3 separate regions of the Homo sapiens genome follow, and regions 1 and 3 are each linked to region 2. Evidence: promoter capture Hi-C in 16 types of primary human blood cells and fetal thymus (Javierre and others, 2016). All regions are on one chromosome and are shown on one strand. The core of a region is centred on a gene start or on the middle of the fragment in contact, and the rest is flanking DNA. Distances in the headings are between cores, read along the strand shown. Region 1 overlaps LEKR1 (leucine, glutamate and lysine rich 1). Region 2 holds the start of LEKR1 (leucine, glutamate and lysine rich 1). Region 3 overlaps LEKR1 (leucine, glutamate and lysine rich 1).

The links. Contacts are between HindIII fragments. The CHiCAGO score rates a contact against its expected background, and 5 or more counts as called.
Region 1: a contact is called between a fragment that was not itself captured here and the fragment with the promoter of LEKR1 in region 2, in 2 of 17 cell types (non-activated CD4 T cells and total B cells). The highest score is 5.3, in non-activated CD4 T cells.
Region 3: a fragment that was not itself captured here is called in contact with the fragment with the promoter of LEKR1 in region 2 in 2 of 17 cell types (naive B cells and total B cells); the score reaches 10.8 in naive B cells.

What each region holds. Positions count from the first base shown.
Region 1 is chr3:156,958,235-156,963,122 of GRCh38, forward strand. All of the region lies in intron 6 of LEKR1 (leucine, glutamate and lysine rich 1), which reads left to right. Among named protein-coding and RNA genes, the nearest start is that of LINC02029, 120 kb to the right of the region's middle. The HindIII fragment of the contact is 4,848 bases long and covers 873-4,888 here.
Region 2 is chr3:156,824,628-156,828,957 of GRCh38, forward strand. LEKR1 (leucine, glutamate and lysine rich 1) reads left to right here and starts at 1,726. Exons shown (of 13, transcript NM_001004316.3): 1 at 1,726-1,749. RefSeq lists an enhancer at 2,199-2,258 and a silencer at 2,573-2,867. The HindIII fragment of the contact is 11,302 bases long and covers 1-4,330 here.
Region 3 is chr3:156,981,917-156,986,516 of GRCh38, forward strand. The region is part of intron 7 of LEKR1 (leucine, glutamate and lysine rich 1); the gene reads left to right. Among named protein-coding and RNA genes, the nearest start is that of LINC02029, 98 kb to the right of the region's middle. The HindIII fragment of the contact is 5,372 bases long and covers 1-4,267 here.

The DNA of each region.
Region 1 (4,888 bases), core at 2,047-4,546, 140 kb after region 2:
CATTTAGAAACATGTTCACAAGTGTACTTCTTGCTTTATCCACAGATATCTTTCTGGTGAACTGATTATACCAACATATTTTTCTTCCCAATTCATTTGGCAAAAGTATTTACAGTGGTTTAGAAAGACTATAGAACTACAAGTTCAGGAAAGACAGCAAAGTTTCCATCTCAGATTTTGCAGTGTTTTATTGCAAAGTAATTATAACTTTCTTCTTGTCTCTAGGGTCCATGAGGGACTTTCCTGATTTTCCCACCTCCAGTGCCCCAAGCCTGCCCCTTTGCTCCCTTCCTACCACCTATTTCCTACTTGTTAGAACCTGATTTTATCTCTGCCTACTGTCTATTAACCTATTCACTAGCTTCTAACCACAATAGATGTTCCCATCTATTGACCTTGGGCTGACCATGTCCTGGAACTGATTTCATTTTTTCAGCAAGTATTTATTGGACATCTCCCACACGCCAGCCAACGGGCCTTCTCTTCACCTTGACTTCTAGTATGCAGGTGTCCTTCAACTCTTCATGGGTCTTCACAAGACTTCTCACCTCCTAGCTTCACACTGGTTTTATATACAGGTACTTTTAACTTTAGTGATTCTCAACAAGGTATTTTTTTTGTCTCCTGTAAATTTCTCTAGTTCCAATTATGTTCCCATTCAAATCGTTTTGTTTGGCTTTACTTTCTCTACCATCTTATGACATTTACTTTCATAATTTTAATGAACTTCAGCCATCTTCTTAATCTGCTTTCTTTTAAATGCATGCCTAACTTTTGTTATTAGCTGACTTATGTCTGTAAGATTTTGTTATCTTGATAAGCACCATTCATAGCTTTTCCAGCTTATTAAAGTCTTCTCAGATATCATGTTAAGCTTTTGAGAAAAGGAAAAACCAATACATTACAGTGAATATCTTCTCCCCAGATAAATCATCAGGTTAATATAATGGACATAGTATTTTAGATTTTCTTTGGGCACATCAAATAAGGGCAGACTGATACACCACTCATCTCTTCTTTCTTTTGTCCTGTTTTTAAGAAAATAATTGTTTGTTTAAAGAATATATTAGAAATCACTTAAATTCACTTTTTGTTATGAACTTTCTAAATGGCTTATTTTAATTAATAATCATAAGTTCAATTCTAAGCATTTGCATTGTTTATATACTCTTTCCTATAAGCCATTTTACCAACTTCTCTGCAGTTGTAGAACTAACTTTAAGTGCTAAGTATCACAATAAGGCTTCTTTTGTGGTACTAATTGAACATCTTCCTTTCTGTGTTCCTGGCCTAATTCTCTGCCCCACCTTCTATCCCACCACTCTGCCTTTTTTTCTTCAGAGAATTCAAACTCTATACTATCCATTTCCCCTGAATATTGCAATCCCTTCATTCATTTCACTTGAATTTCTATACTGTGGCCTTTTATTATCCATGCCTTTAGTTGTTCCTTATTCTTTCTTAGGTTATCTCTCCTAATCAATGAGTTAACATTTTATCCTTTTTTTAACTAACATGAAATATATATTTTATACCTGAATTTGTTAATGTTTGCTGAATATTATGTCACTATTGTGCTTCCTTATATTTTAAAAACTGTTCTAATATTTTATAGTCCCTTATTTCTTACTTTTGAATTCACTTTTAGAATAAACTTTATCTTTCTTCATTTCAAACTATGTAAATATCTCTCTGCTGTACCTTTCATCCCCCCCACCCATGTTCCCTACCAATGTGGTATTAATTGAAAGCATGCTAAGCCAAGAATCAGAACATGATGACCCTTTCACACATTAGGCAGGTGACTCTGACATGCCATTTATCCTTAATGAATATATGTCCACACCTAGGCAATGAATGGATAGAACTAAGACCTTGGAAGGCCCTTTGGGCTCTGATATGCTATGATTCTGGTTCTAACTCTGATGGCATTTTCTTGTTTCCAAAGTTAAATAAATGCTCATATTTTTCACATTTTGTTACTTGTTTCCTTGTAAATCACCACTGAAAAGTTTCAGCTTTGATTCAAGTATATGATTTTTGTTTGGTTGGTTGGTTGGTTTTGTTTTGAGATGGAGTCTCACTCTGTTGCCCAGACTGGAGTGCAGTGGCGCGATCTCGGCTCACTGCAACCTCCACCTCCTGGATTCAAGTGATTCTCGTGCCTCAGCCTCTGGAGTAGCTGGGATTACAGACATGCGCCACCAAGCCTGGCTAATTTTTGTATTTTTAGTAGAGACGGGGTTTCACCATGTTGGCCAGGCTGGTCTCAAACTCCTGACTTCAGGTGATCTGCCCTCCTAGGCCTCTCAAAGTACTGGGATTACAGGCGTGAGCCACCATGCCTGGCCCAAGCATACGGTTTTTATGATCATTACTTTTCTACATGAAAAACTTTTAACTTTGTTTTCCCCACATTTTTTCCCTTTATTTCTGTCTTGAAATAGAGATGCTCAAAAATTTAAATACATGTGTTAATTCTGGTGCATATAGTTTAATAGTGGTTTAGGAGTAAATAATGGGCTATCAATAGCAACCTAACTCTTAATGCCAAAATTTGATTTTTTCATAGAAAAGCCAACATATGAAGTAAAAATTTGAAGACCAAATTTTTTGTTTCCTTTTGAAGATTTATTTACCTAAGTTCTGTAATTTTATGTTTAGCTCACACTAATAACTTCCAAAATGCACAATTTATCTCAATTGATATAATCCTCTCAGAGGTCATTGTGACCCACAGTCAGTCTACTTAAATGATTTTCCTTCCACCTGCTAGAATAAAATGTCCTTTACTTTTTGTCAGCAGTCACAAATATTGGAAGACAGAGTTCAAATAAGTCACTTCAGCATTCAGCTTATTTTTAATATCCTTCCTTAATTTATTTTACCAACTTTCAAATTTATTCCAAGTGAAAAAACTTTTGACTTTTTAATTTTAGTAAGCTGTTCAGTATAGTAAATAACACAAATACTTTAAAAAATGATTTTGCATATAACATTTTAACATCCTAATTGAATCTTTTAAAACAGCTTTACAGAGATAAAATTCACAAATTACAAAATTCACCCACTTTAAGTGTACAATTCAGTGGTTTTTAGGATATTTGCAGAGTTGTGTGACCATCAGCAAAGTCGAATTTTGGGAGATTTCTTTCACACCAAAAAGAAACTTTGTGGCCATCAACAGCCACTCCCCTTACACTCCTGCCCCTTTCCAACAATCCTTAACCTACTTTCTATCTCTATAGACTTACCTATCCTGGACATTTTATACAAATAGAACCATACAATATGCGGTCTTTTGTGTGTGGCGTCTTTCACTTAGGATAATGTTTGTGAGTTTCATCCATGTTGTAGCATATGTAAGTACTGCATTCCTTAATTAGTAGCTTGTTTAGTGCTTGTGATTCAAGTCACAAAATGAGTGATGTGGTTCAGTTGGAAAAAATACTGAGCTGGGATCCAAACAGTTCTGCTTTCTGGTACTGTTTAGGCCTTGTATAGGCCCTTTGAATAAGTTATTAATTTCTATGTCTCAGTTACTTCATCTGTAAATTGGGAATATGGTAGCTTTTCTTACCTACCTTAATACATTAGAATAGGCAAGATAAAATGTAAGATCATCTAAAGAACTATATATTCAAATGTATTTTAAAGTAACTTTCCTGATGTGATAGCAAACCAAATGATTATATTTAGTATACAAGCATTCAAATTTCTTTAAATACTACTTTAATTTCAGAAGAAAGCTATACATTTTAATTTCTCTTTGCCCAAAGGTGTATTCACCTCGACTTGTTTATTTTCTAGTCAGCCCTGATTAGCTGTAACAGTAGTCTGCCTGCTCTTAGAAAAGGTTACTGAAGAAGAGAGTGCCTATGTTTAATTCAGGAGTCATCCGTCTGTATGGCAGATAGAGATCTATGAACACAGATCCACAAGGACCTTACCTGCAAGGTCTGATTTTCAGAGAGCACTCACTGTAGTGACTTGATCAGCCTTTATGATTCCTTTTGAACTGTTGGACTTTAGTTGGAATAATATGACCTTGGCTTCAAATAAAAGGGGAAAGTGCTGATTTTACAAACAGAAAACCAAGGAAGTTTGTAATTATTTTTAGTTGTATTAAATCCAACAGCCCTTAAAAGAGACCAGCTTGATAATGAACCACTGTGGGCTGCTTCTGTGTCCAAAAGTAGATGGACAAAAAGTTTAGCCTGATCTCTAGACAAATTGCAAGCCAGGCAGTATTAACTAAAATTCTAAGAAATCTTTTTTAGAACCTGATCACCATTTGAAATGTGAGTCTTATAAAGGGATCTCCTGTGGAAGCCATGTGATCTTTGATCACTGGAGTCGTCTAAGATTATCTTTGTTTTCTTGCCTTTTCATTTGCTCCCAACATTGAACTTTCATCTAAAGATTACCACTGTTTTATGTATCATCTCCATTTTATTAATGTTTGAATCATAGAGGAATTTTCTATAATGATCATAGGCATCTACTCCTTATAATGGTTGTCATTCATCTGAGACTCCTTTCTCTCCTTTGAGATAGCTGTAATTCTGGTTCATTCTCTAGTCATTTTTCATTTGTGCCATTGCAACCTTCTCTCCTTGTTCTTTACCTCCAACATCATTTTCTTATTCTAAGGCTAGACTTTAGCTCTACCACTCTCTTTGCCTTTTCTTTAACTGTACCATAGGACCTTGGGAATAAATTTTAGACTTCATTTTTTAAATTCTATGGCTTCTGATCTTTGCCTGATTTCCTAAATTCACCCCTCTCAGATAGTTTGCCCCTTGCATTCTTTCTCCCATTATATATACTTGTAGCCTGAGGTGTCTACATCATCCCATCCCAATGTTGTCTCCTTCTGCTCATTCAG
Region 2 (4,330 bases), core at 476-2,975:
TATAAACAAAGTACTCAATAAAGAAAACTAGCCTCAGAACAGAGTGATCTTGCATTAGGTGTGCAAATTCCTGTCCCAGATAGGTACCAGTTTTGGTGCCCTGTATCTAAACTTCCATTATCACAAAATGAGAGCAGTCCTACCCTCACTATCTCTCAGATAAATATGACGAGGATGAATAGCTCTGAAAGTTATTTGGGCTTCTCATAAGCATGTTATAGTTGACCACTTGGTTGACTGTCCTCTAGGCCTCTTAATCCTTTCTTCTTTGAGGGAGTGGAAACAGAAAATCAAGGGTAGGCATTGGGGCAAAAATATCAGTCAGGTTAAATGTACAAGATACATCTACTAGACTTTTTTTTTTTTTTTTTTTTTTGAGACTGAGTCTTGGTCTGTCGCCCAGGCTGGAGTGCAGTGGCATTATCTCGGCTCAGGGTAAGCTCTGCCTCCCAGGTTCACGCCATTCTCCTGCCTCAGCCTCCCGAGTAGCCCAAGTAGCTGGGACTACAGGCGCCCGCCACCACGCCCGGCTACTTTTTTGTATTTTTAGTAGAGACGGGGTTTCACCGTGTTAGCCAGGATGATCTCGATCTCCTGACCTTGTGATCTGCCCGCCTTGGCCTCCCAAAGTGCTGGAATTACAGGCCCGAGCCACCGCGCCCAGCCACATCTACTAGACTTTTTAGTGCCAAGGAACAAGGCACTAGTGTTCAGTACTTCCTGGTGTCATTAATTAGTAGTTATCAATAAGCAGTTTGGTGTACCGATACTGCTCTGCGTCATTTAATCACTTCTCTAAATCTATAGGTTCAATTAATTTTCTTTGTATTTACTTAATCTTATTTTATTCAATAGCAAACCAGTCTCTTTGCCTGCTACAGAGCCATCGATGTTTTCTTTGGTTCTTGGAAGAACTGTACTTCGACCTTATATAATCCTCAGAAAGGCAAGATCTGGACTACGAATGAGTCACCTGCTAATTACACCAATGGCTGCTCCTGCCTTGACCAGTCACAGAGTATCACCCTATCTCGGTATGCTGCTCTGCTTGTCGCGTAGTAGGTCTATAAATACTTGTTTTATGAATGAATGTATGAACAAAGGGAAGTTAGTCACGTGTAAGGGTGGGTAGCCTGCGATAAATAAAGTGTAGACTAGGAGGTCTCAAAATACTTTTTGAACTAAGCCCTTAATCTTCACTACTTTGGACTAGAATGGAAATGTCACCAACGCCTTCCCAATTAATTTGTCCTGGCTGTAATGACTGAAACCAGAACTTCCCTTTACACCCATGACCTCTACAGGCATCTCTTTTTCCTCTGCTCAAGAACAGTAACTGCTCACTGCTGTGTCTACCACATAGGCCCCAGAGCAAGGGGTGATAGGTAGGGCTATAGGCTCCCGACTCCCGACTCCCGGCAGTGCCTCTCTCCAACCCCCCACGAGGCTGGGACAGCTCCCTCCATCTCAGCAGTCGCTACCAAGCACCCGACCCACTCTCGCCCACCTCATCCCTCGATCCCCTTCCCTCCCTCTCACAGCATTCCGCGTAAGACTAGCCCAGCCTTCCGAGCCCCACCACCAGTTTTCCCACTTCCGCCCGGCGCGTGAGACCCTGGGCGGTGCAGGGGAGCGTTGACGACAGACGTGGGCCGTGACGTCGCCGCGCCCTGACGTCCAGCCGACTGGCGGCGCGGTCGCCCGGGAGACCGGGAAAGCCGTTTCACACCCGTCCTAGTCGAAGTCGAGGTGAGGGACGATGGCTTTCCTCAGCCTGGGATGACCCGGTCCTCCAAATGCAGTTCCGGAGTGGAGGCGTGCTCGCACCCGGGGAGAGAGCCAGAAAGCTGAGCCGCGGCGCCCCAGCGAGAGCACGAGGCCCCGGGTCTGGACTCCGCCACCACGCTCCTCTGCGGCCCCTTCCTGGTGTCTGCCAGCCCGCGGGGCCCAGGCGCGGTCCGCCTTCCTCCCAGCCCCGGGGAACGCGCGGCTCTGCTTCCTCACCCCCGCACCCTCCTCCTCCTCCTCTTCCGGCCACTGCAGGTCCAGGGGGAACGGGGTTAGAAAGGGACAGATTTGAAAGCCATTCCAGCAGTTTTGTCTGGCCTTGCGGTTGGTTTCTGTGTGGAAGAGCCTGCCGCTTCAGGAAAGTCTTAGGATGTGAACTCCCGCCTTCACCTGCCCCTGACCTGCTCGTTGTGGGTGATTCACGCCATGGGAATGGTTCTTTACGTAAGGGCTTGAAAGCTGAACGTGAGTTAATGGCCTGACGTGACACTAGTGTGAGAAACGGAATTGGAAACGAACAAGGACGTGTCTGCATTTTAAAAAATGTCTTTTCGGTGATCTTGTTAGAGAGGAGGTTCACAAACACCCACGTAGCTGCAGCCACTTATCACTGCACCTCTTGCCAAAGTGCGGTCCACATACGTGCAATGAGAAAGGATTAAAGGGACTTGTTTGATAACACACGCAAAACTATGTAAGACTAAATTTAAAAAATTACAGATTTTCCCTGTTGCCAAAAGGGAAAGACCCTTCTTTTTTCTTGAGAAACTTAGTATTTGTGAATGCTTCCTCTATTTAATATGTATGCAAATGTTTTTAAAGACCTAGGAATGCTTTTCTTGAGGACCTGGAAGCCATTTCTTTAAAATGTAAACATCAAGGAAGATAGGGCCCCAGTCTCCTTGTCACTTTGGGAGTTTAACCTAGGTGCGTTATTCCTAATTGTAAACACCTGTTTCGTTATGGAGCTGTGCATTACTTAGGAGGAAAGCCGTTAGCTAACACAGGTGGTTACCCCAATTACCAGATGAATTAAAGAGGAAATATAAAAGAATGTATAGAACACTATGTTAAGCCCTCTTACATGAGGACACGTTACCAGTTTCCTTGAGAATGTGTAATGGATTGTGTCTCCTTGGCTGTATAAAAGAGGGATTTCCTTCTCTCTTTGTAACCTCATTAGCAGATTAGCCGTGATGTGCATCAAAGTCTAGTTGAATGCCTAATAAAATTGTTGTCTTTCTGCATTGTGGAGCATTTTCTGGGTTGGCAGGACTTTTAATTTTTAGTTTCCCCCCGATAATCAGAACCTGCCAATTCCTCCCCTTCTTATGCTAAGGCCATAAAGTTGGAATAGATTCACAGACAATGAAGGCACTACACAAAAACTGTTCTACTGGTGCTTTGTTTATACTGTCATTTAGATCCGTGCTCTCAGATAACTTTATGGGTGAAATTTTAAAAGGATGTTTAGATGGTAATTTTTTGGAAAATTCTCCCAATAGAGTTGAAGTTACTATTTCATTTTACTGATGGCAAATCCACCATTAAATGACAGAAATGAGAATAATGAGCCTTCTGGGCTCTTGCCACATGATTATGACAATCTGCCAAACATCAGATTATGTTTGGGCTTATGTTGACATGGTTAATGGTACCTCCATTGCAGACCTCAGTTAACTTTACCACACATGTCATATTATGTTTTATGTGGGAAGACATAAAGCTCATTAGTTTTTGGTTTTAAACAGCAACTCACTGAAATGAGTCTTTGTGCTAACACAGGGAACAAGGAATCTTCTCTTCCACTAGTGGTTGCACCATTTACAAAGATAATGCCACTATAGGACTTTTTGACAACTACGGTTTCCCTGCTACCTTGCTGTATGGCCGGGGTTGCTCTCTCTGATAGAGTACTTTGCTTCTCCAGTCTCTTGTCAAAATCCTGCCCTGATTGAATACAAGCAACCTCAGGAAGCCTTCACTAACTCCCACCTCTCATCTGAAACATAAGATCTTTTCCTTTCTTGAACTCTTAGACTGCTCTTGTCTATGCCTTCTTCCCTGCTATGGAATTGTGCCTGTATCATCTGACTCTGCTGCCACTGCCCTCGCCCTTCTCCTGACTTCTTAGATATGTATAAACAGCCCTTACTCGTGAGGGAAGGATTTAAAAAAAAAAACAAAAAACCCAAAGTGCTCCTCCATTTATCCTCTGGTTTTATGAAAGTAGTGACTGACCTTTATATTGAATGGCTTTTATTAGAAAAAGAAAATCTGTTAAAAGTAAAATATCTGCATAAAATTATATAAATGTCCATCTTAGATAAAATTGGCACTTGGCTTCTTATTTTTTGATCACTCTTCTGTTCAGTGTTTGCATATCATATTTAATATGGTATCTCTAAATGCTCTTTTTCTGTATTTCATCATTTAATCCAGCATTCATGCCACAATTGCTTTTTTCATCTGCTAAAATACTATATTTTCATACTTTTTCTAGCAGCATTTCAGAAAAATATTTGATTTTTAAAATACACTG
Region 3 (4,600 bases), core at 332-2,831, 160 kb after region 2:
TTTTAATCCTTATTCTTTGTGGGGGCTGGGAATAGGAATGTTTGTCACCTGTAAGTTAATTCTTTGTGTTGTTTAAAGATTTTTAAATATTTGGATATAAGTTTTGTGAATTTTGACAATAAAAGGAAGAAGCAATTTATAAATGGGTGAAACTGGGGTTCTTTTTCCAAGATTTTTAAGAAAATATTTTCCAAGGTTTAAAAGAACGTTGTTATGTATTTAAAAATAGAGATTTTATCAGAATGCTTTGGGCTGCAAGTAACAGAGGTAGGATAATGTCAGTTTTAGTTGATAAGAGTCTCAGCAATATCCCCAAGGATCTTGATGTTCTTTCTGTCTCCATCCTGCTGCCCTCAGCACTGGCTTCAACCCAAAGCTAAGTCAGGTCCCTATAATCGCAAGATGGCTGCAGTTCCTCCACTCTAGAGGCCTCATTTGGATATGGTGCCTGCAGGCAGGAAGGGATGGTTTTCTAGTGTCTTTTTAGAAGTGAGAAAAAAGAATTATCAGATGCCACCAAACAGCATTCTCCTTATATTTCCTTGTCTAGAACCCTTTACATATCCTCTCCTAAGTGAACCACTGGCAAGGGGAACAGGGCTGCTACAATTACCTTAGACCAAGCAAGATTTATCCTTAGAACAAATAATAATTGGAACTCTGATGGGCAGGAAATAAGCTGTAGTGAATGTTCAGAAGGTAACCAGTAGCGTTTGCTAAAGAGGTAGAGCTTTAATGATGCTCTGAGAGCTTGATGAAATTTTCTACAAATTTTATTTTTAAGTACTATAATATCTAGATTAATTAAGGGAACACCTCCCTGAAATAATGAAAAATATGAAGACTATAAAATCTAGTTCTATTGCTTTTAAACATATATGGATATAAAATATACTTTTATTACTTTCATATATATATGAATATGTGTGTGTGTGTGTGTAGATAGATAGATAGATAGATAGATAGATAGATAGATAGATAGATAGATAGATGGAAGAGCTAGAGACAGGTAGCATAGAGAAAGGTCTCCAGCACCTGAAGCCACTTAAGTGGCTCTATCCTTCCTAATTCACATTTCTAAAAATGGGCATTATGCCCATTTTTTAATTTTTAAGAAGGTCTTGTATGTATAGGAAACATCAGTTTTGTAAACTGATAAAACATCATCAGCATTTCTGCAATTATACAGTAACTTCCAGGATAAAGATAGATAAATAAGCCTTAAAAGAAAGACTGTCATTTATGGTGAGAAATTTCTAGGAATTCCTGAAAGGTAATACATAGAAAGGATAGTAGAAAGGGTAAACTCTACTGAGGAATAACCCAGGTGAAGAGCAATTGAGTGGTGATGCTGGTGGGCATGGGATAGACAGGACCTTCCTCGGAATTAATTAAAACACAGAGAAGGGAGTGAGACCTGGTGAATCATTGAAATAGTGGTTGTCACACTCCAATCTACATAAGAATCATGGGTAGCTTGCTAAAATTCTATATTACAGTATGGCCTCTCCCACAGACTCAGCCTCAGGACCAGATTTCTGGGCTCCTTTTCCACAGATAATCTGGTTCTATATTTATGTCTGGGGTGGCTCCAAGCAATCACATTTTTAATGCACTCCCCACATGATACTGATTCAGGTGGTCCAGTGAAACCCACTCTGAGGAATTACATATGGACCATTTAAGCCAGCTGGCCCCTCATCAATACCCTACAATCAGCCCTGTGTGAAGCAGCATTTGCAGAAGCATCTATACTCAGACTAACACAATGAGTATGTGGACTAGAGTCAAACAGCCTGGCAGCTACTGAATCCCAGGAGAGACCAGGGTCCCCACAGCCCAAGACAAACCTCCAGTGCCCCCACCAGGTAGCATACCCTGCCCCTTCATTACACCTCTAAAAACAATCAGGGCAAAAATAAACAGCAAAGCAGACAAGCAAACAGAGGATCTTAAGTCTGAGGATTCAACACAACCAAAGATTACTAGGTATGTGAAGAAACACCTCCCCCCAAGTCCCCCCAAAAAGTGGCTATGAATTCACACAGAAAATCCTTAACACCCTAGAAAATTGTTAAATAGCAAACAGATATTAGAATAAGTATAACTGATATCCCCCAAAGTATGTCCAGGATTGTAACCATAAAAGAACAGACGGTTATGGCAGGCTATTAGGAATTCGGGAGATTAGAAATATCAGAAAAATGATCCCATTCATGCTAAAAATGAATACCAATGCACATACACATGCATATGGATTTAAATACATTGAATAAATGATAGGATTACAAGTTACCTCTAGAAATGAAAGTGTGGGCTGTGTGGAAATTCTTATCTCACTCTATTATATATTGCTTGAATGCTTTACACTTTGGATATATTTATTTTCATGTATGTGATAAGAACAAAATTTACTTAAAATGATTTATAATCTGTCACTAAGAATATGTCTAAGTGATTATGTAAAATATGTTTTCTGGCCGGGCGCAGTGCCTCATGCCTGTAATCTCAACACTTTGGGAGGCTGAGGCGGGTGGATCACCTGAGGTCAGGAGTTCGAGACCAGCCTGACCAATATGGTGAAACCTCGCCTTTACTAAAAATACAAAAATTAGCCAGGCATGGTGGCAGGTGCCTGTGGTCCCAGTTACTCGGGAGGCTGAGACAGGAGAATTGCTTGAACCCGGGAGGCAGAGGTTGCAGTGAGCCAAGATTGCGACACTGCACTCCAGCCTGGGTGACAGAGCGAGACTCGGTCTCAAAAAAAATTTTAAAAAAATGTTTTCTAATTTAAGAACCTCTGTAATGTACTTACACTTTAATTCCTTTTTTTTTCTAAGCAAGCTAACACAGGACTTACATTTTAATTTCATTAACAGTCACCTACTGCTCATTTAACTGATAATTTGAACAATAGTAAACTTTTGACCATCACAAAGTACTAATTTTTAAAGCTCTTACTTGGCCTTTCAACAGCATCTGACAGTTGACCAATCTGTTCTTGGGACAGTCTCTATTATTGAGATATAAATATCAGCGTTCTCCTGATTTTCCTCTCACCTTCCTGTTCATTCATGAAAATTTCTTCCTGGCAAGCAGAAGGTGGCCTGGTGGCATTCCAGTGTCAGTGTACAGATCCATTTTTCACATGGTCCTAACTTGAACAGGCTATGTTTATTTCATTTATTTATTCAATACAAAATGTTTACTGAGAGCCAGGACTATTGTGTGCAGGCACTAGATATTGGAGTAACAAGATTGGCACATTTCCATAGAGTTACTTTTCAGACAATGCTAAGTGCCGCAAAAATATAAAATAGGCATAATAGAATGTGAGTAGTGGAGAGGGGTGGTATACTTTTGACAGAGTGGTCAGAATGGCATCCCTGAGTAGATGATCTTTAAGTTAAGATATGAATAACAGAAAGGAGCTAGCCATGATTACATCTGGGAGGAAGGAGATCAAGACAAGACCCTACGTTTCTTGGAAATCAGTTTTACAAGTTCAAAAAACATGAAGGCCAGTTGTAGTGACAGAATAACGGCTCCCCAAAGAGTTTCATGTCCTAATCCCTGGAATCTGTATGTTCCCTTACATGGCAAAAGGGACTTTACAAATGCGATTAAGAATTTTGAGGCCAGGCGTAGTGGCTCATACCTGTAATCCCAGCATTTTGGGAGACTGAGGCGAGGCAGGTGGATCCCTTTAGGCCAGGAGTATGACTTGGCCACCATGGTGAAACCCTGTCTCTATTAAAAAATACAAAAATTAGCTGGGTGTAATGGCACACACCTGTAATTCCAGCTACTCAGGAGGCTGAGGCACAAGAATCTCTTGAAACCTGGAGGCAGGGAGGCAGAGGCAGTAGTGAGGCAAGATCGCACCACTGCACTCCAGCCTGGGCAGCAAAGCGAGACTCTGTGTCAAAAAAAAAAAAAAAAAAAGAATTTTGAAATGGGGAAATTATCCTGGATTATGTGGGCAGGCCTAATATAATCACGAGGATCCTTATAAGAGGAAGCAAGAGGGTCAAAGTCACAAAAGCAGATGTGAGTATGAAAACAGAGATTGCAGTGATGTGATTCGATGATGGAGGAAGGGGCCACAGGACAAGAAATACAGGTGGGCTCTAGAAGCTAGAACAGGTAAGGAAATGAATTCTCCCCTGGAGCCTTCAGAAGGAACACGACCTGGTGACACCTTGATTTTAGGACTTCTGACCTCCAGAACTGTGAAATAATAAATTTGTATTGCTTTAAAACACTAAGCTTGTGGTCATTTGTTACAGCAGCAATAAGAAATTAAATTGACCAGTGTTTCCTGAAGAGTTTCTGAGGAGTTTGGATTTATAAGGAGAGCAATGGGAAGCTTGGGGAGAATTCTAAGAGAGTAATCTAATCTGTTTTTTAAAAGGTCACTGTGGTTGCTCCTTCAAGAATGGACTGGAGTAGGAGTAAAAGCAATATCAGGGAGTCTGGGTGGAAGGCTGTGCATTCATGCAAGTGAGAAGTAATTATGGTTTAGCCTAAGACTGTAGCATGGAGATGGAGAGAAATATATGTCAGAGGTCAATCTGATTTACTGATAGAGAAAATGTGA